2 separate regions of the Homo sapiens genome follow, and region 2 is linked to region 1. The links are contacts of gene promoters, found by promoter capture Hi-C in human tissues and cell types (Jung and others, 2019). All regions are on one chromosome and are shown on one strand. The core of a region is centred on a gene start or on the middle of the fragment in contact, and the rest is flanking DNA. Distances in the headings are between cores, read along the strand shown.

What was found. Contacts are between HindIII fragments. The study calls those that stand out against the background at their distance.
Region 2: a contact is called between a fragment that was not itself captured here and the fragment with the promoter of CHRDL2 in region 1, in 1 of the 25 tissues and cell types used here (small bowel).

Annotation. Positions count from the first base shown.
Region 1 is chr11:74,728,586-74,733,873 of GRCh38, forward strand. It overlaps CHRDL2 (chordin like 2), which reads right to left and starts at 2,841. Exons shown (of 11, transcript NM_001278473.3): 1 at 2,222-2,841. The coding sequence starts at 2,303. The HindIII fragment of the contact is 7,141 bases long and covers 1-5,288 here.
Region 2 is chr11:73,394,005-73,399,586 of GRCh38, forward strand. It overlaps RELT (RELT TNF receptor), which reads left to right. Exons shown (of 11, transcript NM_152222.2): 8 at 232-313; 9 at 473-730; 10 at 1,083-1,281; 11 at 1,440-3,470. The coding sequence ends at 1,487. Among named protein-coding and RNA genes, the nearest start is that of RELT, 20 kb to the left of the region's middle. The HindIII fragment of the contact is 5,281 bases long and covers 1-4,246 here.

The DNA.
Region 1 (5,288 bases), core at 1,591-4,090:
CTAGCCTTGAACTCCTGAGCTCAAGGGTTCCTCTCCCTCTCAGCCTCCCAAGTAGCTGGTGACTGGAACTACAGGTGTGTACCACTGTGCCTGGCTTTTGTTCTTTTCTTTAATAAATTTGCTGTGTGACCTTGGGCAAGTCACTCTTCTCTTCTGGGCTTCAATTTAACTCTAAGTATAGGTATATTGATGGGTAGAAGCAGATGGTTTTTGATAGTTTCACCAGCTCTAACATCCAGGAATCTTAACATTCTCCAATGAGTGCCAGTCCACCTCACCCTAATGAGTTGGCTCCAAGTCTTTTTCTCACATGTCTGGAGATCTGTATTTACAAGGCTGTAGGGAAGATGGAATACTGGCAGGACCTGCTGAGAGGTACAGAGCTGAAGGCCAGGGAGGCACAGACGAGGGAGATCAGAGTGGATCAAGTCACCGGGGAGAGTTTGCTTGAAGAGGTGTGACCTAGGCAAGGCCATGAAAGGCTGACAAGATATGGGAAGCAAAGAAGCAGGGTGTGGGTAGGATAACAGTCTGGTTCTAGGACATCTTTCCAAGATGCATCAAGGGCAATGATATCTGGAGAAAAAATTGCAGGGACTAAGAACAAGGTGTCAAGTGGATGGGAGGCAGGCATGGAGGGCATCCTGTGCAAAGTCTCTTTTAAGAAATAGGAGGCAGGTGTTAGGAGGAAACCCTCAGGGTTCAAGAAAGCGGAAGAGACATTTATTAAGTACACAGCATTGTGCTGGGCACTTTAATCCGTTACCTCCTTTAATCCTCCCAAGAACCCTGCAAGTTCTGGATTAGTATCTCTCTTAGACAGATTAGGAAATTGAGGCTCAGAGAAGTTATGACTTACAAAAAGTCACACAGCTCTAAGGGGCACGGCCAGGATTTGAATACAACACTGAGCTAATTCCATTACTTGTTCTATGTAATGGAAAGACTTATGTGAGTCTCATGCTGCTGGCAGGCCAGAGACACTCAGCCTGCTCTCATGAGCAGAAACAAGACCGTAACAAAGTCCAGCACTACCAGCTCCAGAATGTCACGTGCAAAAGAAAGGCATAGATGGAGGAGCTGAGCTGGGGAGAGGAAAGAGCACCAGACTAGGAGTTGGGAACGCAGGGTCTTAATCCCAGGCTGTGCCATGTATGTCCTGGAGAAACCCACTGCTTGAATGAAGCTCCTTTCTTCTGATTAAGAGAATGTGGTTTGGTTTTCCATCCTCACAGCATTCTAAGAGATTGGCTGGGCATGGGGAGGGGGGACCACCAGCCTATTGTGGGCGCAGTGAGGAAACTGAGGCTCAGATTGATGATGTAACCTGTTTGATGTTACACTGTATCTATGTGGAAAAGCATAATTGGGAACTGATTTTTTTTGGAAGCTATCAAGCACCAGTCTTGTGCTAGCTGCTTTACCTCTTTTCTCTAATTTAATCCTATCAACTCTCCTAGGATTTTTACTTCCGCTTTATAGATTAGGAAACCCAGGGTCAGAGAGGTGCACTCTGTGACGGCCTCCCAGCAGCTGGCATTCAGCGGGGCTGGGATGGTGAAGACGCTGGTCTATCTCACTGTGCCCTGCCGCCTCCCAGAGTCTCACACTGCAAATTCAGGGTTCCTTCTAGACAATGTGAGGCAGGGAATAAAGCATGGGATCTGGAACTAGAGTTCTGGCTTTGGATGGCTTACCCGCTCTGTAAGTTTTAGCAAGTTCCTCCTTGCTCAGCCTAAGTTTTCTCATCTGTAAAGTGCGAATGATAATACCCACCTCACTGGAGAGTTGCGAGGATCAAAAGAGAGAAAAGAATGGGAAGGTTATCCTAATTACCTCTCATTTCTGTCCAATGGCTCTTTCCAAAGGCAAAAAGCCTTTTCTTCTCCATCACACTCCTTACCTGTAGCCAGACATACCCGACTCCCTCCTAGGAACAGTAAGTCCTCCCCCAACCCAAAACACAGTGCCCTGCCCTCTCCCCCCGCTGCCCTTGGTGCCCCTCCTCAGGTCCCTGGCAGCAGCCCTCTCTCAGTTCTGAGTTGTGCCGAGTTCCTCCGGTCCCCCGGCCCATACTGGTCCTCACGGAGTCTCCACCCCTCCGGCACAGGTGCTGCCTGGACGGCTGTCAGAAGAGCTTGGGGTCCAGGTCCTGGCGCTGTCCCTCACATTCCAGGGGCCGCATCCCTCCTCTGCCCACCCAGCCTCCCGGTCTACTTACGGGCTCGAGCGTGGGAGTCCAGGGGGAACCAGAGCAGCGCGAGTCCCAGCAAGGAGGAGAGGACCCTCACCTCGGGAACCATCCTTTCCCCAGGGTCAGGCCGCTGGTCCGGGAGCGGAGTCGGGAGGAAGGGAGACGAAAAGGACACGGAGGCACAGGGGCCACAGATCAACCCACAGACCCCAGGAGGTCTGCTGCTAGAGCGGGGTCGGAGAAGGGCCAGGAAGCAGCGGTGGGCAGGAAAGGAGGGCAGGAAGGGAGGTCTAAGGTGGGAAGAAGAGAAAGGTGGAAAGAGAACGCGGGGAAAGGAGGGAGAGATGGAGAGACGAAGGAAGGTCCAGCAGAAGGGAGAGGCGATCAAAGAAAGGGGGAAGGTGAGAGGGAGAGGAGGAGAAAGCAGGGAGAGGACCGGCGTCTGCCGAGCGCGCAGCGCCGGGCGAGGCGCGCGGGACCAGCGGGTGTTGCGGGCGCGCGGGCTAGAGGCGGCCGGCGCCCCCTGCTCGGTGGGCTCGGGGTCGGGCCGCGGGGGCCTGGGGCCCGGCGGGGCGGCGGTCCCAGCAGCGGCGGCGGCGCGGCGGCCGCGGAGGGAGGCTGAGCGCGGGCCGGCTGTGCTCGCCAAGGGCTTCAGGCGCCGCGCTCGGGCGCATTTGTACTTTGCCGCGGGAAGCAGGCAGCCCGGCCTGGCGCTGGCCTAGCGCTGGCGCCTCCTCTGGGGCACCGCGGGCTCGGTGGATTGGCCACCCGAGAAACAGGCCCACTTTTTCCCCTCCTCTCTTGTGCGGGTCTCCGGGACGGACGCTCCAGGCGCGGCGCCGAGTGGAGGCGAGGGGGCTGCGGAGGGGGAAGGGGCCACGCGGGCCACGGGGTTTAACCCCTGACTCCCCGCGACGCCAAGAATGCAGGAGGGCAGAGTTGAGGGAGACCTCAGGTGGAACTTTCAGGTGGGGAAGGCTGAGCTGTCGGGGCTGCGGGTACCGGGAAGGCTCAGGGTAAGGCGCTCGGCGGTGCGTGCCCGGAACTCCGCAGATGGATGGAATCAGAACACTGGCGTTCTTAATTCAGTTTGTGGTCTACAGCACGCCACCGGAGAGTCTGTTTTCCCAGCTTTAAAATGGGCATTTTAAGATCTTAAAATATCTCTACTATCTTCCCACGAGTGTTGCTAAGATGAAATAAGGTAATGAACGTCGAAACACTCACCCCACAAAGAGAAGGGGTCCTAATTCCAGGTGCCTACAATACCAGTGGCCCCTGTCCCCACTCCGTCTGCCCATGCGCCATTCTCAGGAAAGTCAGCCCATAGGGATCCTGTGCCTTCCCCTGGAGGTCTTCCTCTGCTCCCCGCTCCCACTCCCGAATCAAGGCAAGATCTCTCCTTTGCCTTTGCAGGTGAGGCCTGCACTTCTCTGGGAGTGATGGTCACCTTCAGTCATCTTTAGGGAGAGCTGATTGTCAAAGAGTTTTCTTTCCCACCAGAAGGGGAGCTCCCTGAGGACAGGGCCCTGACACCCTCCAGCCCTCAAATGGTGCTCCATCTCTTGTGTTGAATGAACACATGCACTAATAGGACACTAAGAAGAGAATAGCCAGCTCTGGCCAGACCAGAAACACACAAGCTCTGAAATCAAAAGGGCAGAGTCACTGTCCTGGCTCCATCCGTAACTTGTTGGGCCACTTTGAGTAAATACATCTATCCTTGCTTTGGACCTCAACTTTCTGCCCAGCTTCTCTTGAAGAGCTAATGGAGACTCCAAAGAGTGCCAGAGGAGTATGAGGTGGGAAGGGATGTTGAGCCATATCCCACTCTGGTAGGGAATCATATTTCCGGGTTTAAACACTTGGCTGGCTGGCTGTAAAGGTATCTTTCTGGGCCAAGGCTGGGCTCCCCATTGCACTGTGCTTTCAGGGTATTACCCCCAAGATCTCCACCCTCCAAAAGAGAGCAGTAGGAGGAACCAGTGATCCCCAAACTGGCCCTTCCTAGGGCTCTCAGGATCAGGGACAAACATGATCTGTCCAGTGCCCTTCAGGCTTAATTTCTACTCTAATCTGGCCAGTCTCTTCCTTTCCCCTGAGTATTCTTTATTTTAACAGATAGTGCAAGCTTATGCATGTCACCATGCTTCCCTTTTTGCCTTTGCTTCCAGGGATCTCAGAGTTAAATCCTGTGCTGCTTAATTGCATAAACAATCTCATCCCAAGGGTTTGGGACAGTGATCTTTTCCTTTCTCTTTGTTTAAAATGTGCTGTGCACATATATTCATGTCTTAGATGTAAGAAGTGGATTAAGATGGGTTCCCCTACATCCTGCCCATCATACTTCAAAAAAGGCCTCCACCATCTCAGCCCTCCTGTCCATCCCTATTATCCCCAGAGTTGAGGCCAACTTCATTCCTTTTTTTTTTTTTTTTGAGATGGAGTTTTGCGCTTGTCGCCCAGGCTGGAGTGCAGTGGCGTGATCTGGGCTCACTGCAACCTCTGCCTCTGGGTTCAAGCGATTCTTCTGCCTCAGCCTCCCGAGTAGCTGGGATTACAGGCATGCACCACCTATAATTTTTGTATTTTTAGTAGAGATGGGGTTTCGCCATGTTGGCCAAGCTGGTCTTGAACTCCTGACCTCAGCTGATCCACTCACCTCAGCCTCCCAAAGTGCTGGGATTACAAGCATGAGCCACCGCACCCGGCCATCTTCATTCCTTACTTGAACTTTCCCAACAGCCTCTTACCAGGTCTCCTCCCCCTAATCTGGATCTCTCCTATCTATTTTCCTCACACCTGCCTTGAGAACTATGCTGATCATTTCTACTGACAAATCTGATCACATCACTTTCCCACATAAAACCTATTATTCACTTCCTATCATTTATAGGTTAAAATCTAAAATTTTCAGCACTGAATTGAACACCACGCATATTTTAGTTCCAATCTACCATTGCCACCTACCCTACACTTTGGCCAACCGCTCACCTCCCCAAACTGACCATGCGTCGTCGCACCTCCATATCCTCACACATGTTTTCCTTCTGCCTGGACTCTCTCTTCCTCCATCTAGTGAATCCCATTTAAC
Region 2 (5,582 bases), core at 356-2,855, 1.3 Mb before region 1:
TTGCCCTGCTCTGCCTTCCCTGCCAGGGTGCCTCAAGCAGCCTGGTGCTCTCTGACCCAGGAGTGCACACCTCTGCCTCCCATTCTTGCCTGATGAAGTGGGAGGAAAAGGCGCACAGCCCAGGCTGGGAGTGGTGGTATGGAGGGTAGGTGGGGGGTTCTCTGCTGGGGCAGGGGGTGGGAGGTGTGTCCCATATGGCCACAGTGAGGGTCTGACTGCAGCTACCCACAGAGAATGCTGCGGCCCTGGAGGAGCTGCTGAAAGAGTACCACAGCAAACAGCTGGTGCAGACGAGCCACAGGCCTGTGTCCAAGTGAGTGGGCTGGTGGGAGATAACGGGGCCAAAACCTACATTAACCAGCCTGCCTCCTGGGGATCTCCCACTTGGGTCTCCCTCAAGTCACCCTGTTCCCTGCTGGGGTCTCCTGCCCCTGGCCTGGCCTATGGCCACTTCTGCCTGTGCCCCCTGCAGGCTGCCGCCAGCGCCCCCGAACGTGCCACACATCTGCCCGCACCGCCACCATCTCCACACCGTGCAGGGCCTGGCCTCGCTCTCTGGCCCCTGCTGCTCCCGCTGTAGCCAGAAGAAGTGGCCCGAGGTGCTGCTGTCCCCTGAGGCTGTAGCCGCCACTACTCCTGTTCCCAGCCTTCTGCCTAACCCGACCAGGGTTCCCAAGGCCGGGGCCAAGGCAGGGCGTCAGGGCGAGATCACCATCTTGTCTGTGGGCAGGTGAGATGGGCACAGATGCAGCAGGGGCAGGTAAAGACGTGACAGCCTGGGGGCCGGGAGGGGGAGGCAGGGCCCCAGCTTGGGCCCTGAGCACCCTGCTCAATGGGAGCCCTGCCCTTATTGGGCCTCTCTGGGCAGTGGAGGCGGCCAGAGAGATCAGGACTTTCCGGTTATGTTGTGTCTCACATGGAGCCCTTGCATCCCTAGGGCAGCATCTTGGCCCCCATGGCACCCGGGCCTCTCAGGCTAAGGCTCTGGTCCATGAACTTGCTGTGTGACCCCGGGCACGTGCTGCCTTCTCTGTGCCCCGGGATCCCCGCTAACGGGGATGATTGCCCCACTCTCCTCACAGGTTCCGCGTGGCTCGAATTCCTGAGCAGCGGACAAGTTCAATGGTGTCTGAGGTGAAGACCATCACGGAGGCTGGGCCCTCGTGGGGTGATCTCCCTGACTCCCCACAGCCTGGCCTCCCCCCTGAGCAGCAGGCCCTGCTAGGAAGTGGCGGAAGCCGTACAAAGTGGCTGAAGCCCCCAGCAGAGAACAAGGCCGAGGTGAGAGTCAAGGAGAAAGGCATCTGTTGGCACCTGGGCCAACCCTGACCGAAGACGGGGCAGGGGTGGAAGTGCAGCGGGCCCTAGGCAGGGGCCACTTTCCTGGAGCCAGAAGCCAGCCCCTGACTCAGCTCTGACCCCTCACCCCTGCCCACCAGGAGAACCGCTATGTGGTCCGGCTAAGTGAGAGCAACCTGGTCATCTGAGGGGCGGTCTAGTCTAAGGACACTGCGGCCCTGCCCTGGGAGGTTCCGAAGGCTTCCTGGAGGAGGTGGAGCTGCAGCTGGGACTGTGAGGACCGAGAAGCAATGGCCCAGCAGACGAGACAGCAAAGACCAAGGCCTGGAGGTGGGAGCGTCTGCCCCAGTGAGGAGGCAGGTGGCCGGCGGGCACTGTGTACAGGAGCAGGCTGAGCCCCGCCCCTGGCCCTGCTGCCATGTTGCTCCCCTGAAGGATGCCCCGACCCCCGTGCCTGCCCTGGCTGGATCCTAGGAGCCCACGGGATTCTCTGTATCATCAGAGGCTGGGCTTGGCAGAGGGGAGGGGCCTGTGCCCGTCACCCCTGGCCCCATTCCTTGGTAATTAGCCACACCCTTGCCTCTGTACAGGGCCCTAGAGCAGATGTGCGTCCCCCTCCTCTTCCAGCAGGTCTATAAAGGGAAGGGGTAGCAGAAAGTCCTGGGCTAGGAGAGTGAGTCCCTGGGTTCTAATCTTGGGCACATCTGTGGCCATCGCTGGGTCCATTTTTCTGACTGTGAAGTAAGGAGAGACGTCTCAGTACCCAGGGCCTCTTCAGCTCTTTGTAGGTTCTGGGCTGGGTTGTGGGGGACTGGGGAGCTGGGCTCTACCATCCCTCCCATTAGTAGCTTTATCCAGCCCCGTTTTTGCTGCTTCCAGGGCCTCTGCCTTCAAGGCCCCCATGGGGCTGTCCATCCATGGCTCTGCCTACGGAAGGGGCTTAATGCATGTGCCTGCCCCTCCCCCAGCTGTTTTTAATGAAACTGAAAAAATAGACTTGATCCCGGCAGGACTGTGATACAGAGCCCTAGCCTGCCCAGCCAGCCCCAAGATCTCAGGAGCTTTAGGGAGAAGACTTGGTGGGGCTGGAGCACACCTTGGGCCTCAGTGGTTTCTGTGTCCCTGTGGTGCCAGTGCTTCTGGGCAGTGCAGGCGGCTGCCAGGCCCAGCCCTGACTTCCACTCTGGCTCAGCAACCTGGTTATTTATGTGGGGCCGTGCAGGCATGGGCCCACTGCCTGTCCATCCTGTTTCTCTTATTTATTGAAACTCACCATTGCCCTATCCTTGTGTCTCCACCCCCTTCCATGTGTTGAATAATAAAAGGTGGGAAAGTGCTGTCACGAGGAGCTCCTTTTCTCTGTGCCCTTCCCAGCTTATCCGCCTGTTCCACTTGTACCTGTCCAGCCCTGCCCTGTGTTGGGCACCGTGACAGGCTGCCCTCCCCTCACAGTTCCTGCACCTCAGCAGCCAGGGAAGCAGGGCCCAGAGGAGACCCATCAACTCATCTGGTTCTCACCAAAGCCCCTAGCTAGAGGCAGGGCTGTCCCACAGAAATAGTGTGAGCCACATATGTGACTTTAAATTTTCTGACAGTCACATTTCAAAAAGTAAAAAGAAGCAGGTGAACTTAATTTTTTTTTAACCCAGTCTATCCAAAATATTTTCATTTCAATATAAAATCAGTATAAAAAGTGTGAATGAGCTGTTTTTGCTTTTGCTTTGAAATCTGGAGTGTATCTTACACATCTTGATTGGAACTCAAATATTTCAAGGGCTCCATAGCCACGTGGCCAGCAGCTACCACACTGGTCAGCGCAGCACCTGAGGAAATGCACTGTGTGGAGCCCGGGAGGTAATTGGGGGTGAGGAAGATGTGCGGGCCAGGGAATGTGTTCCACAGAGAGGGACAGCATGTGCAAAGGCTGAGCACCAACACATAGTGGTCACCTGGGCCTTATGCCCAGGGAGCCTCCAAAGCATTCAGCTCCTGCTTGGCCAGTGTGGAGAGGAAAGGAGCCACAGGAGCGGGTGCTACACCCGGCAAGACAGAGCGTCTCCATCTAAAATTCCTAGGGCAAGCTTCCAACCCGGCCCAAGGGCCGCATGTGGCCCAGGATATGGCTTTGAATGGGGCCTAACACAAATTCATAAACTTTCTTAAAACATTGAGATGTTTTTGCTTTTTTCTTTTCTTTTTAGTTCTTCAGCTATTGTTAGTGTTAATATGCGGCCCAAGAAAATTCTTCCAATGTGGCCCAGAGAAACCAAAAGATTGGACACCCCTGTGCTAGGGTTTGGTAATGGGAAATGGGTCGGGGGCTTAGGGCCAGCTGGGTGGGGCAACAGGAGCAGTCCTGGGGGCACCTGTGACACAGCCATGGAGGATGTCCCATGCCATCCAGATGTGAAGGCCCAGAGCTCTCAGGAGACAGACCTGGAGACAAGAAGACCTACAGGCACTCAGGTGGGTGTTTAGGCCAGGACTGGGCTGGGAGGAAATGTCCTGGGGACGATGCCTGGGCTGCTCCAGGGCACCACAGAGAAGGCACTGCTAGGGAGGCAGGAAAGAAACCAGGGAGGGCAACGTCCGTGGCAGTGTCCTGGCAGCCAGGGGAGGGGTGGGCGCAGGGTGGGCTGCAAGGCCAGGTGCTGCTGGGGGGTGAGGAGGACTGCTCTGTGCCCTGGTGAGTGGCACAGGAACTTGGTGGGATTCGCCTAAAGGGAGAGGGGAGACCAGGGCCAGGGCCAGGTGGATTGAGGGAGACAGCTCCCTGCCGAAGCCTGGCAGGCCATAGCTGGGTGGGGCCTCAGGCTCTGGGGAGAGACAATTTTCAGTTAATTTAGGGTTTTATTGTTTGTTATGTTGTCTAAAGACGGGAGAGAGGGACACATTTAAACTAACGGCCTCAGAGAGAGGCTGAAGAACAAGAGTGACACCTGATGGAACCTGGGGAGGTGTGGAGAGGACCAGCCTGTGGGAGTCCCCGGCCTGTCTGCAGCAGGCACAGGGCAGCTATGGGGCGGCCATGCTGGGGCTGTCGGGAGGCCTGGCTTCACAGGGGGCAGGGGCCTTTCTCCTGAGCAGAAGCCAAGCTGGGGGCCTCCTCCTACCCTGGGCAGATGTGCTTTGGGATTTGACTCTCCTTGGGTACCTAGGGCACAGGTGTCTCTCTCCAGGGCTTTTCAGGTGGGCAGGAAGGGGAGGGACACCTCTGAAGATCCAGGAGATGTTTCACCTGCACCAGAAGAGGGGAAGGAAACAGAGGCTGGACATCAGGAGGGATGTTCTGGAGCAGAAAAGGATGCCAAAGTGTAGGACAGGGTGTCCATTGTAGGGGACTAGCAGGCATCACCAGTGTACCCAAATAAGTATTTCCTGCGGCTGCCAGAGTGTGTTTGGAGTCCCTATTTGCCAGCTGCTCAGCTGCATCTCAGGGTCTGGCCTCTCCACCTTGACTGGCCCTCAGCCTCCTTCCCCAGGGGAAGGCTGGGCTGTGGGGTCTAGATGCCCTCTCCACAGCCTGCCTGTCTCGCCTGGGCAGAGGTACATACACATGCAAGCCAGGGTGCACCAAGGCTGGGTGCAGGCTTCCAGGCCAGGGCTGAGCGCCCCCTCACAGTAAGCACTGTGCTCTCCTCCAGACTCCCCCTCCCCAATTTCTGCTTGCTGAAAGGTGTGGCCCTGGCCTGTTTCTTCACCTGTCCCTTGGGGTATTGAGGCTAGCTTGCAAGAGTGGGATGAAGAGCTGAGGGCTCAAGTAGGAGTGTGTCTGATGCCCTTGGTCTTCAGGGTCCTTACCCTCACCTGGAAGCTTTTCTGGCTTGTTCCATCTAAATCCCTGAAGCTTTGTCAGCGCTTGAGTTCAAGAGGCCCACGCGGAGGTGGGAGCTGGAGGACAGGGTGGGGTTCTGGGCTGACCACTGAGGGGAAGAGTTCTGAGCTTGACCTCTGTGCTCCACCCCTCTTCCCTATGGGCCAGAATGGTAGGGGCTGGGACCCAAGTCTCCACCTCCCCTCCTGCTCCTGGCCCTCAGCTCTGCCACTGTGACCTGGAGCTGAGCCTCCCTCTGGGAGAAAATCCCTTCCTGCACCGGAGAAACTGACTATGGTGACTCAGCCCCAACAATGCCTGTGGCCAGAGGTGCCCCCTCGGACACTGGGGGTGGGTTTCATATTGGATCAAGGACAGGAAGGGAGGCTGGGTGGAGGCACACGGTGAGATTTGGTGAGAGGCATTAGAGAGTAAGGAGGCCTAAAAGTTTTCATTTCAGCTGCAGTGT